2 separate regions of the Homo sapiens genome follow, and region 2 is linked to region 1. The links are contacts of gene promoters, found by promoter capture Hi-C in blood cells and fetal thymus (Javierre and others, 2016). All regions are on one chromosome and are shown on one strand. Each heading gives the region's core, a stretch centred on a gene start or on the middle of the fragment in contact. The rest is flanking DNA. Distances are from core to core; before and after follow the strand shown.

Region 1 (5,348 bases), core at 1,548-4,047:
GTATTTTACCGAAAGATCACTTCTAAAAGTTTGTCTTCACCCCGATCTAAAAATTAGAAAACTAATTTTCTTTCAGCAGCTGCATATGTACATAATGTAATGTTTCTACATTTAGACCTACACAATTATAAGTCTAAACAAAATATGTGTAACATGATTGGAGAACATAACTAGCAGTCATTTAAGAAAATGGACATTTGGAAACATCATTTCAAGAGCTTGGGATGAAAAATTTTGCTATGACCTATAAATCTGGATCATTCCACTGACTGACACTGAGAGAAACAGTGTATTATCACAGTTTACACAGTAAATTTTTTTGGAGGGGAGAGGGAGGAGATTGAAATAGAAATGATCGAAATAGAAATTATCTAAAGTTTAAGAAATACAACTGATTAAATGTTACATGTCAAAGACACTGTAGGTACCCAATAAATCCTGTTAAATGGACTGCACAAGTGGGATGAGAACACGTTTTCCCCACACCTCTGACTAGTATGTACCTTTCTTAGGAAGTTATTTTTTCAGCCATGGGAAAAAAAAGGGCAGAATTTAGGACAGATAAAACATAAGTAGCTTATAAATCCTCTGAAAGGAAATCAAAACACAGTATTTTGTATCTCTGTATAAAGTTAAGCTCCTCAGGGACAGGGGCAATGTCCAGAGGATAGTGAGCATACTACTTAGCAAACTAATGCAGGTTAATAAATATTGACACAGTAAGACTAGCATAGTTTACATTCTAATTTTGTAAAGATTATAAGTTACCTCTTCATATTCTGTTCTTTTATTTCTCCTGTGTATATTATAAATACACAAAGATTGAAAATTATTTCTTGAAGCTATTTCCTTTTTTATTTTTTGGTCAACTGTATTAGTGTTTCTTAAAAGGGCTTCTGGTCATCCTTAGGGCTTATCAGTAGCATCATTAATAATGTATTCATTTCACTAAAAATGTGGTAAGTAGCTTGGATTTAAAAACAGGATCTAATTTCAAAGCTATTTCCACTATACACACCAAGTTACAACTTTCTTATCTCTCCTAAATTCTAAATTTTACATGATTTACCAAATCACTTCTTAAGTAAGAGTACTTATTGATCAGAAGTGTGAGACAAACACCTTATCCCACTTGTCCAATTTATTCAACAAGATTGATTGGGTACCTTTGTGTCTCTGACAGGTAACTTTCAACAGTTGTATTTCTTAAACTTTAGGTCGTCTCCCAAAAAAAACTGTAATAATTTGCTGCTTCTCTCAATATTGCAGGCAGTAAAATGATCCAAAATTACGGGTCATATCCACATTTCTTCATGATTGAGGTTAACTGTGCACTGTAAACCCCATATGCTATTAGTTTACATTTTCAACAGCACCCTCGCCACTTAATAATCTCAAACAGATTTTGGACTGTTACTAATTTAGCATATCCATAAAAAGTCATTTAAAAAATGTAGACGCTAAATTCTCTTTCAAGGTTGCCAAGCTTCACCAGTGTCTGTATTAAAATTATTTCTAAAATTTTACGGACTAAGGCATTTGGTACATTCAATTCTACCTTTACCAACAAAAGCCTTTACCACCAAGATGAGGAAAGCATCCTTTTCATTTTCTACACTGAAAAGGGGGGGGAAAAAAGGCCAACTGCTTGCATACAGGTCTGCATATAACACAGCAGTCTCTGGCAAAGCCAATAACTCACGTTCAACTTCAGAAATCCTGGTGGCCGGTAACACAGAGTAACCTGTGCGCACAACCCTTGGGCTTGACATACCACTTCATCCGCCCTCCCTTCCCATCAATCCACCCCCAAAACCCCAACCCACCAAGCACACGGCTAAATATGTCTTCCCCAAGAGAGCCAAAAACCTTGAAAACGCCGAGAAAGGGCTCCCCTTTGAAGGAAAGGGCCTGCCCTTCCCTGTCTGGGGCCCCGGCTGGCTCGAAGAGCCTGGCTCCTAGGAGGCCCAAATCTCGACGCCTCGCACGTCCCGCCCCGCCCCGGGCCCGCTCGCGTCCCCTCGGGCGACAAAACCCTCCCGCCGTCGCTCAGCCAGGACTGACAGTTACGGCTGCAGCAGCCGCGGCCACCAGGGGCCTACTTCTGGCACCAGCCCCTTCGGACCACGCGCCCCCAAACACTCGCCTCGGCGGCGGGGGGCGGGGAAGGGGGGTGTCGACCTCGCCACAGCGGGCCCCGAAGGCCGGCCGAGTGACGGAGGGGAGCCAGCGCCGCCTGGCGCAGGCCGCGGCAACACTGACCTGTCGTCGCCCCCGCGCCTGGGCTGCGGCGGCCGCCTCACTGGTCGTAGTCGCCCTCGCCCGCCGCCTCCGCCCGCCACCGCCTCGTTCTCTTTCGCTGCCGCCACCGCCGGGGCTCATGCGGGACCCGCGCTTCCTTATCCGGAAAACGAGGCCGGGAAAGGGAGCGCCGGGGCCGCCGAAATCCCGGCGTTCGTCGCCAGCCGCCGCTGCCTGTCCACACCGGGGGGCTGAGGGGCCCTCCTGCCAGGGGCTACAGGCCGCGAGCTATTCCGAGGAGGAGCCGAAGGAGGCGCCGCCGCCCGCAGCCGAGCGCGCCGGGTCGGCAGAGGTGAAGCGTAAGTAGGCGGCGGATGGCGGGCGCCCGCGCTGGCGGATGGCTACGCGGCGGAGGGGTGCGCGAGCGAGCGAAGCCTGGTGTGTCGGGTCCTGGCGAAGGGAAAAGGCCCCGTCGTCTCCTGTAGTCACCCCGAGCCCAGCGCCACCATCTTGGGAGACACACGGATCTCGCGGCCGCGGCGCAAGACGGGAGGACTGGCTGGGCGGGCCGAGTATCCCGGCAGGCAGCGCGCGCCGCCCGGCCGGGCGAGGGCTCCAGGCCGGGACGCGGGGACGTGGGGCGGGGCCAAGACGCGCGGGAGGGCGCCGCGCTCCGCCCCTCCTTCCTTCGCCGGCCCCGCCTCCCTCCCGCTTGCCGTCGCCGCCGGCGCACGGGCCATTGGGAAGAGGAGGTGGCCTGCGGCCCCTCGGAGTCCCACCAGGCTCGGTCGCCATCTTGCGACTGGACAGAAAGGGTAATCCCTCTTTTTAGTTTCTGCTGTCTGTGACCCGAAAGAATAAACCTGGGACTTCCGGAAGCCCTCTGGGCACCCCCCCCCCCAGGAGGGTTGCAGAGCCCCTTGGTGTACCCAGCAGAGGAACGCCTCAGACTTTGTTGGGAAACGAATGGCTCTGAAAGTTAGCTGAAGCCGCTGGAATAGCCCCCCAGCCCCGAGGCGGGGCAGGTGCCTGCCGTTATTGGCTTTTCGACCCCAACCCTTTTCTATCTGGAGCTGCCTTTGTAGATGTTGCAGGGGTGCCCCGAGAGTGCAGGCCAGATTTTAGAGGACCAAGGTCATCTACTTAGGCCTCTTGCCAACACAGGATGTGTCAACTAGTTTACCAGAGACGAAGGTAAAGTCCCGTCTCCTGCAGTTGTTGACGTTCAGTAGGTCGTCGGTTAAGAAAAGTGGCTCCCTGGTTGACCCCAGCTGGATAGAGGCTAATTTTGATCCATATGACAGCTGAACGTAGTTAAAGCCATTAAAATTAAATCCATTTAAAGTCATATTTGGTACCAGGGTCACCATTTTAAAAGGTGTGTGTGTGTATGTGTGTGTGTGTGTGTGTGTGTGTGTATAGCTTTACAACACTTGCTAGCAAAGCCAAAAGAGTATCACTAACAATTCATAGTGTTACAACTTGCAACTTTGTTGATAAGCCCTTGAAGTACTAGATGAGTACCCATGTCTAGTATTCAGATTTTTTATATCAACAGTCGTACATAGCAGTGTATCTTTTTTAAATTTATTTTTATTTTTAAACTTAGAAATGGTGTCTTGCTATGTTAGGCCCAGGCTGGTCTCGAGCTCCTGGCCTCAAGTGATCCTCCCACCTCGGCCTCCCAAAGTTTTGGGACTACAGGCATGAGCCACAGTGCTCGGCCAGCAGTGTAATTTTTAACTGTCAGTCTCGGAACATCTTTTTTGTATAGCCAAGTGTGTGGGTGTGTGTGTGTATCCGCCTCACAACTATAACCAACCATTGAAAAACCAACAATAAGCTAGAAGAATTTAAGTTATTCCAGGACAACTGATGATAATGATAGTATTAAGCCATATTCGATTTTAAGATGTTTTAACTCAGCTCTTTACTCACTTTTCATTTCCTCTCATTACACATCCACATTTGGAAACTATTTGCTGTTATATTTCATGGAAAGGACTAGTAAGAATTATAATCTTTAAAAAAATTTATCTTCGCAAGTTTTCAAAATAGGCAACAAAGAATGTAAATCTTTAAGGACTTTATTGTTGGACTAATTAAAGCATACCATTTCTACTATATCTAGCATATGGAGATACTTATAGGTATTCTTCCTTTTAAGTAGAAATTGACAATAAATTAAGTGTAATTTTATAATGGCCTGGTGTATCAAAGTGTGGCGGAAATCCCTGAGTTCCAAAAAGATTAAAGACCGAAGGGAAATAAGTCTGCTTTTAGCTAGATGTCAGAATGACTATTCATTGCTTTACTGAGATCAAGGAGGATCTTAATTCCTCCTGGAGAAATTACGTATATCCGTTTTAGTTCATTAATTTTAAATCTGTATTCTTATGTGTGACATTAGTATTAGAATTCTTTCAAGATTTCACTGTGCTTTTTGTTTTATCCATTTTCAAATTTAGAAATGTTTGCTCATCAAACTTACCAACATAAATACTTTCAGGAATCCTTAAGATACTAGCAGTGTTCCACTTCCCTATACACCTGTTTATATGAAAAATAAAAAAATTCTCCCATATCAGACCCATGTGTTTTTTTTTTTTTAGGTGTGTTTTTCCCAGAAAAACAACTTTGTATCTACTAAGTGAACAGTGATTTCTTCAGACTTTTCTAGTCCAAATGAGACCCAGTAGTTTCTAATAATTTTCTCATTTCAGGTATACAGTAAAAAGAGCAATTTAATTTTATAAGCATCTGCATCAATGCCTTGAGCAAACTTTGAGCTAATGTTTACCCAGAACTATTTATGTGTCATATGTTGGACTACTTGAACTACTATTTATGTGCCAGACCTTGGGAAACAATAAAAGATGAACAATCTCTATCCCTGCCCTCAAGAACTTGCAGTTCCAGAGGAAGTCACACCTGTAAGATTGGACACTTTTTCAGAGTAACCCAACACTTCATTGAGCATGGGGGGTACCTAGTAATATGTATCTGCTAATACTAACAAACTTTTTATTTTATTATTATTATTATTTTTTTGAGACAGAGTCTTGCTCCGTCGCCCATGCTGGAGTGCAGTGGCGCAATCTTGGCTC
Region 2 (5,348 bases), core at 1,962-4,461, 2.7 Mb before region 1:
CCAGGTCCCCACTACCACAAAAGGCCACGTACCTCTCCATATGGCCTCCCTCACAAATCGCTCACAGGGATGTTCTTTACTGGCCCCTGAATCTTTCAGGATCCATGTCCCCCTATAAAATAAGCATATGCCCATTGTAACCGTGGCTCTGCAACCTCAGTTCAAGATGTAAAACTGAGTTCTATTCAATCTGACACTGACAATGTTGATTACAGGCCTATCTTCCCAGGTACAGAACAAGAACATGAGATCAATCACTCTTCCACCTACCCTGAGATGGCTGCATAATTGACTCTTTCCTTCCTCTTTTCAGATGTTTACCTTATCTTATGTAAAATGAAGATTTACTGAGCACTAATTAGAGCTTCCTAAGAATGTAACCACCGCTTCACTGCCTGCTCCCCCTCCCTTTCTTCTCTCCTGCACGCCTTCTCCCCTTATGTACTGAGTTCCCAAAACCCTCTTTGGAAAGCACAGGTCACAGGCGTTTCTCTGGCTTGTGTTTTTTCTGGGGGTATCATCAAATTTTGGCTGAACAAAGCTCTGTTGATGGAGGCACTTGCCTCAGTCAGTCACTCATTTTTTGATTAACAGATATAAATATAGTTACCCCTGTTTTTATTTACTTAGTCTTTGCTTTGTCAGTTCTTTGACTCTCAATTTTTCTTTTTTAAAAATAAATCTTATTGTGTATATTTAAGGCTTACAACATGATGCTAAGAGTTATATATAGATTGTAAAAAGATTCCTATACTGAAAGAAATTAACACACCAATCATTTCACATAGTTCCCCATTTCCTTGTTGCTTTTGTGGCAAGAGCAGTTGAAATCTACTCATTTAGCATGAATTTCACATGCATAACAATTTTGTTCCCTGCAGTCCTCATGTCATACATTACATCTCTAGACTTGTTCATCCTTCATACCTGCTACTTTGTGTCCTTTGGCCTCCATGTCCCCAATTCCTCCCCTCTCCCACCTCCCCTGGTAAACAATGTTTTGCTCTCTATCTCTGTAGATTTATTTATTTACATTTTTACATCCCACATATAAATGGGTTTATGCAATATTTGTTTTTCTGTGTATGCTTTATTTCACTTAGCATGACGTCCTCCAGCCTCATCCATCTTGCAGCAAATGGCAAGACCTTGTTTGTTTTAGGGCTGAATAATATTCCATTGTGTGTGTGTGCCACAGTCTCTTTATCCATTTATCCATTGATGGACACTTAGATTGTTTCCATATCTTGGCTATTATGGTTAGGACTGCAATGAACATGAGAATACAGGTAACTTTACATAGTAATGATTTCATTTCCTTTGGGTGTATGCTCAGAAGAGGGATTGCTGAGTCATATGGTAGTTCTATTTTTAATTTCTCTAGAAATCTTCATACTCTTTTCCAGAATGACTGTATCAATGTACATTCTCATCAACAGTATGCAAAAGTTCCTATTTCGCCACACCCTTGCCAACATTTATCTTTTGACTTTTTGATAATAGTCATAAGGGGTGTGAGGTGGCATCTCAATGGGTTTGATTTGCATTTCCCTAATGATTTACAATGCAAAACGCCTTTCAGATACCCACTTGCTATTTTCATGTTTTGTTTAAAGAAATGTCTATTCAAGTTTTTTAAAAACATTTTAAAAATTAGGTTATTTGTTTTGAGTTGTATTAATTCTTTATACATTTTGGATTTTTTTTTTTTTTTTTTTTTGGAGACAGGGTCTTGCTCTGTTACACAGACTGGAGTACAGTGGCACAATCACAGCTTACTTGACCTTCTGGGTTCAAACACTCCTCCATCTCAGCCTCCCAAGTAGTTGTGACTACAGGCGCACACCACCATGCCTGGCTAAGTTCTAAATTTTTTGTTAAGACAAGGTCTCACTATGTTGCCAGACCTGGACTCAAACTCCTGGGCTCAAGTGATCCTCCTACCTCAGCTTCTGAAAGTGCTGGGATTAAGGAGTGAGCCACTGCACCGGGCTAAATGTTGGATATTTACCCCTAATTGGCTGGGTATAGTGGCTCACACTTGTAATCTCAGCACTTTGGAGGCCGAGGTGCTTGGATCACTTGTGGTCAGGGGTTCGAGACCAGCCTGGCCAATATGGTGAAACCCCATAATGGAGTTTCGGCTTGTTTAACTGGGAAATGAGGATCATGACCATCCCTGTCAAGCAGGAGAGGAGATGGGCTGATGTGTATTGTGAGGCCCAACATGGTGAAACCCCATTTCTACTAAAAATACAAAAATTAGCCAGGCATGGTGGTGGGCACCTGATATCCCAGCTACTCGGGAGGCTGAGGCAGGAGAATTGCTTGAACCCAGGAGGTGGAGGTTGCAGTGAGCCAAGATTGCACCATTGCACTCCTGTGTGGGCAACAGAGTAAGACTTCGTCTCATTAAAAAAAAAAAAAAAAGAATATTCACTTCAATAAATGGTGAGACCAGCTTTGCAAAGATGACAGTGAGAGAAGTTTAGCATGGCTGACTCCATCTTGCTTCCAGTCTCACGGGCCTGCTGTCTTTGCTCATTCCTGGGCATAGGCCAAATCAGCCATGGGAGAAATGTAGTTCATAGTCTAACGTTGCCATTTCCAGTCCTCGGGGGTCACCTCTTTCCACTCCACGCTTAGTTATCAATTTGTTACTCTGCTTTAAAATGTACCTTTTTTTTTTTGTAATCTCAGCTACTCAGGAGACTGAGGCAGGAGAATCGGTTGAACCTGGGATGCGGAGGTTGCAGTGAGCTGAGATCGCACCATTGCACTCCAGCCTGGGCAACAGAATGAAACTGTCTCATAAAACAAATATAACATGAAATGGTAACGTCTTTCTTTAAAACCAAAGAAAATATGCAAGGCGGATGTCTTCCTGTCACTTCGCACAGTCTACTCCCATAGCGCCTGAGCCCCAGACCCCAAACTCACTGTCCTGCTCGGGGACCCCCAGACCACAGTGAACATTACGGGTACCCCAAGTACTCTCCTATCCTCACCTCGCTCCTGCAGTAAATGGCTAAATGAATAACTCAGAAGTGAAGCCAAAAAGAAAAAGAAAATGCACATGGGGAACAGGAGAGGAGAGCAGAGGCCACAGTGTGGAGGCCTGGGCTGATACACTGCAAAGAGATCTTTGGGGCTCCGAAGAGATCTTTGAGGCTCCAGGTCTCATGAGTGGGGGCCAGGCTCCCTAGAGAAACCCTTCTTGTCTAGGGCTGGGGAGCCCACCAGAGTGACCCAATCAGTTCTCAGGGCCTGTGATGGGGCCACATGGTTTTGAGAAGCCGGTGTTCAGCTCCATCCTAAAGAGCACTCATGCACGTTGGGGAGGAGGGCCGGGGTGCACAGCTCTGACCTGAGTCAGACCCACCTCAGGACTGAGCCCAGCAGAAGGAGGCCCAGAGTCACTGACCATAAAAGGAGCAGATGCCCTCCCCCGTGTTGGTTGAGATGAGTCTTGGGCATTAACTCTAATAATTTCTAACTGCACCCAGAAATACTGATTCACACAGCAACTAGTAAATAATAGCCTTTTAGAGCTAAAAAAAAAAAAGCCTTGTATGGTTTATTATGAATTAACATATGCATTTTACACAAACTAGAGGCACCGTGGTGGGCCAGCAGCAGCCTGTTAGGGGCCACAGCAAGGAGACTGGATTTCCTCAAGTGCAATGGGAGTTACTGGCTAGGCTTTAAGGTTTTAGCCACAGGAAAGATGAATGTATTTCAGAGCAACGTGGGTGGATTCAAAATGAGGTTTAGAACTAGATCCATTAAATTTTTTTTTTTTTTTAGACGGAGTCTGACTCTTATTGCCCAGGCTGGAGTGCAGTGGTGCTATCTCGGCTCACTGCAACCTCTGCCACCCAGGTTCAAGGGATTCTCCTACCTCAGCCTCCCGAGTAGCTGGGATTACAGGCACCTGCCATTGTGTCTGGCTAATTTTTGTATTTTTAGTAGAGACGGGGTTTCACCATCTTGGCCAGGCTGGTCTTCAACTCCTGACCTCATGATCCACCCACCTTGGCCTCCCAAACTGCTGAATTTTTTATCTGAAAAATCTCCCACCGGGCGCGGTGGCTCACGCCTGTAATCCCAGCACTTTGGGAGGCCAAGGCGGGCACATCATGAGGTCAGGAGATCGAGACCATCCTGGCAAACGCAGTGAAACCCCATCTCTACTAAAAACATAAAAAATTAGCCAGGCATGGTGGCGGGTGCTTGTAGTCCCAGCTACTTGGGAGGCTGAGGCAGGAGAATGGCGTGAATCCGGGAGGTGGAGCTTGCAGTGAGCCAAGATCGCGCCACTGCACTCCAGCCTGGGCAACAGAGCGAGACTCCATCTCAAAAAAAAAAAAAAAGAAAAGAAAAGAAAAGAAAAAAAAGAAAAATCTCCCCTCTCCAAAAATCTCCCGGCATTTCTACAGAAGTCTCTACCTAGGTAAGGAGAAGAAACAATTCTTGGCCGGGTACAGTGGCTCACGCCTGTAATCCCAGCACTTTGGGAGGCCGAAGCTGGTGGATCACGAAGTCAGTAGTTCAAGACCAGCCTGGCCGAGATGGTGAAACCCTGTCTCTACTAAAAATACAAAAAAATTCGCCAGGCGTGGTGGCAGGCGTCTGTAATCCCAGCTACTTGGGAGGCTGAAGCAGAGAATTGGTTGAACCCATGAAGCGTAGGTTGCAGTGAGCCAAGATCACGCCACTGCACTCCAGCCTGGGTGACAGAGCAAGACTCCATCTCAAAACATAAGACGAAAAAAAAATTTTTTAGGGAGCTGAAAAGTGAACTGATTTCCTCATTTCTCCTTGCAAGGAATCAATTGATAGCCCAAAATTGAAACCCAGAGTTAAAATAAACGTAACTCCCACCCTCTTAGTGTTTCTCACTTTTTTTTTTTTTTTTTTGAGACAGGGTCTCACTTCTGTTGCCCAGGCTGGAGTGCAGTGGCGTGATCATGGCTCACTGTAGCCTCAACTTCTGGGGTCAAGTGATCCTCCCATAGCCTCCTGAGTAGCTGGGACTACAAGCACATGTCACCATGCCTGGCTAATTTTTGTATTTTTTTGCAGAGATGGGGTTTCATCATGTTGCCCAGGCTGATCTCAAACTCCTGGGCTCAAGTGATCTGCTGGCCTTGGCCTCCCAAAGTACTGGGATTATAGGCATGAGCCACTGTACCTGGCCTACTAACTTTAATTTTAGGTGTATCTTTTAGGAAGTAATATCTCATGGCAAAATAATGTTTGTCATTCAGTAGTTACTGTAGTTTCATTTCAGTTTTTCTTTTGTTAAATTCAAGCAAAATATAGTTTTATGTTTTTAATTAAAATCC

Evidence for each region. Contacts are between HindIII fragments. The CHiCAGO score rates a contact against its expected background, and 5 or more counts as called.
Region 2: a contact is called between a fragment that was not itself captured here and the fragment with the promoter of UBE3A in region 1, in 1 of 17 cell types (fetal thymus). The highest score is 8.8, in fetal thymus.

Annotation. Positions count from the first base shown.
Region 1 is chr15:25,436,227-25,441,574 of GRCh38, forward strand. UBE3A (ubiquitin protein ligase E3A) reads right to left here and starts at 2,798. Exons shown (of 13, transcript NM_130839.5): 1 at 2,263-2,798. RefSeq lists enhancers at 1,914-2,859, 2,860-3,805 and silencers at 1,943-2,362, 2,723-3,062. The HindIII fragment of the contact is 4,364 bases long and covers 1,485-5,348 here.
Region 2 is chr15:22,779,064-22,784,411 of GRCh38, forward strand. No RefSeq gene overlaps it. Among named protein-coding and RNA genes, the nearest start is that of NIPA1, 4.9 kb to the right of the region's middle. The HindIII fragment of the contact is 7,008 bases long and covers 1-5,348 here.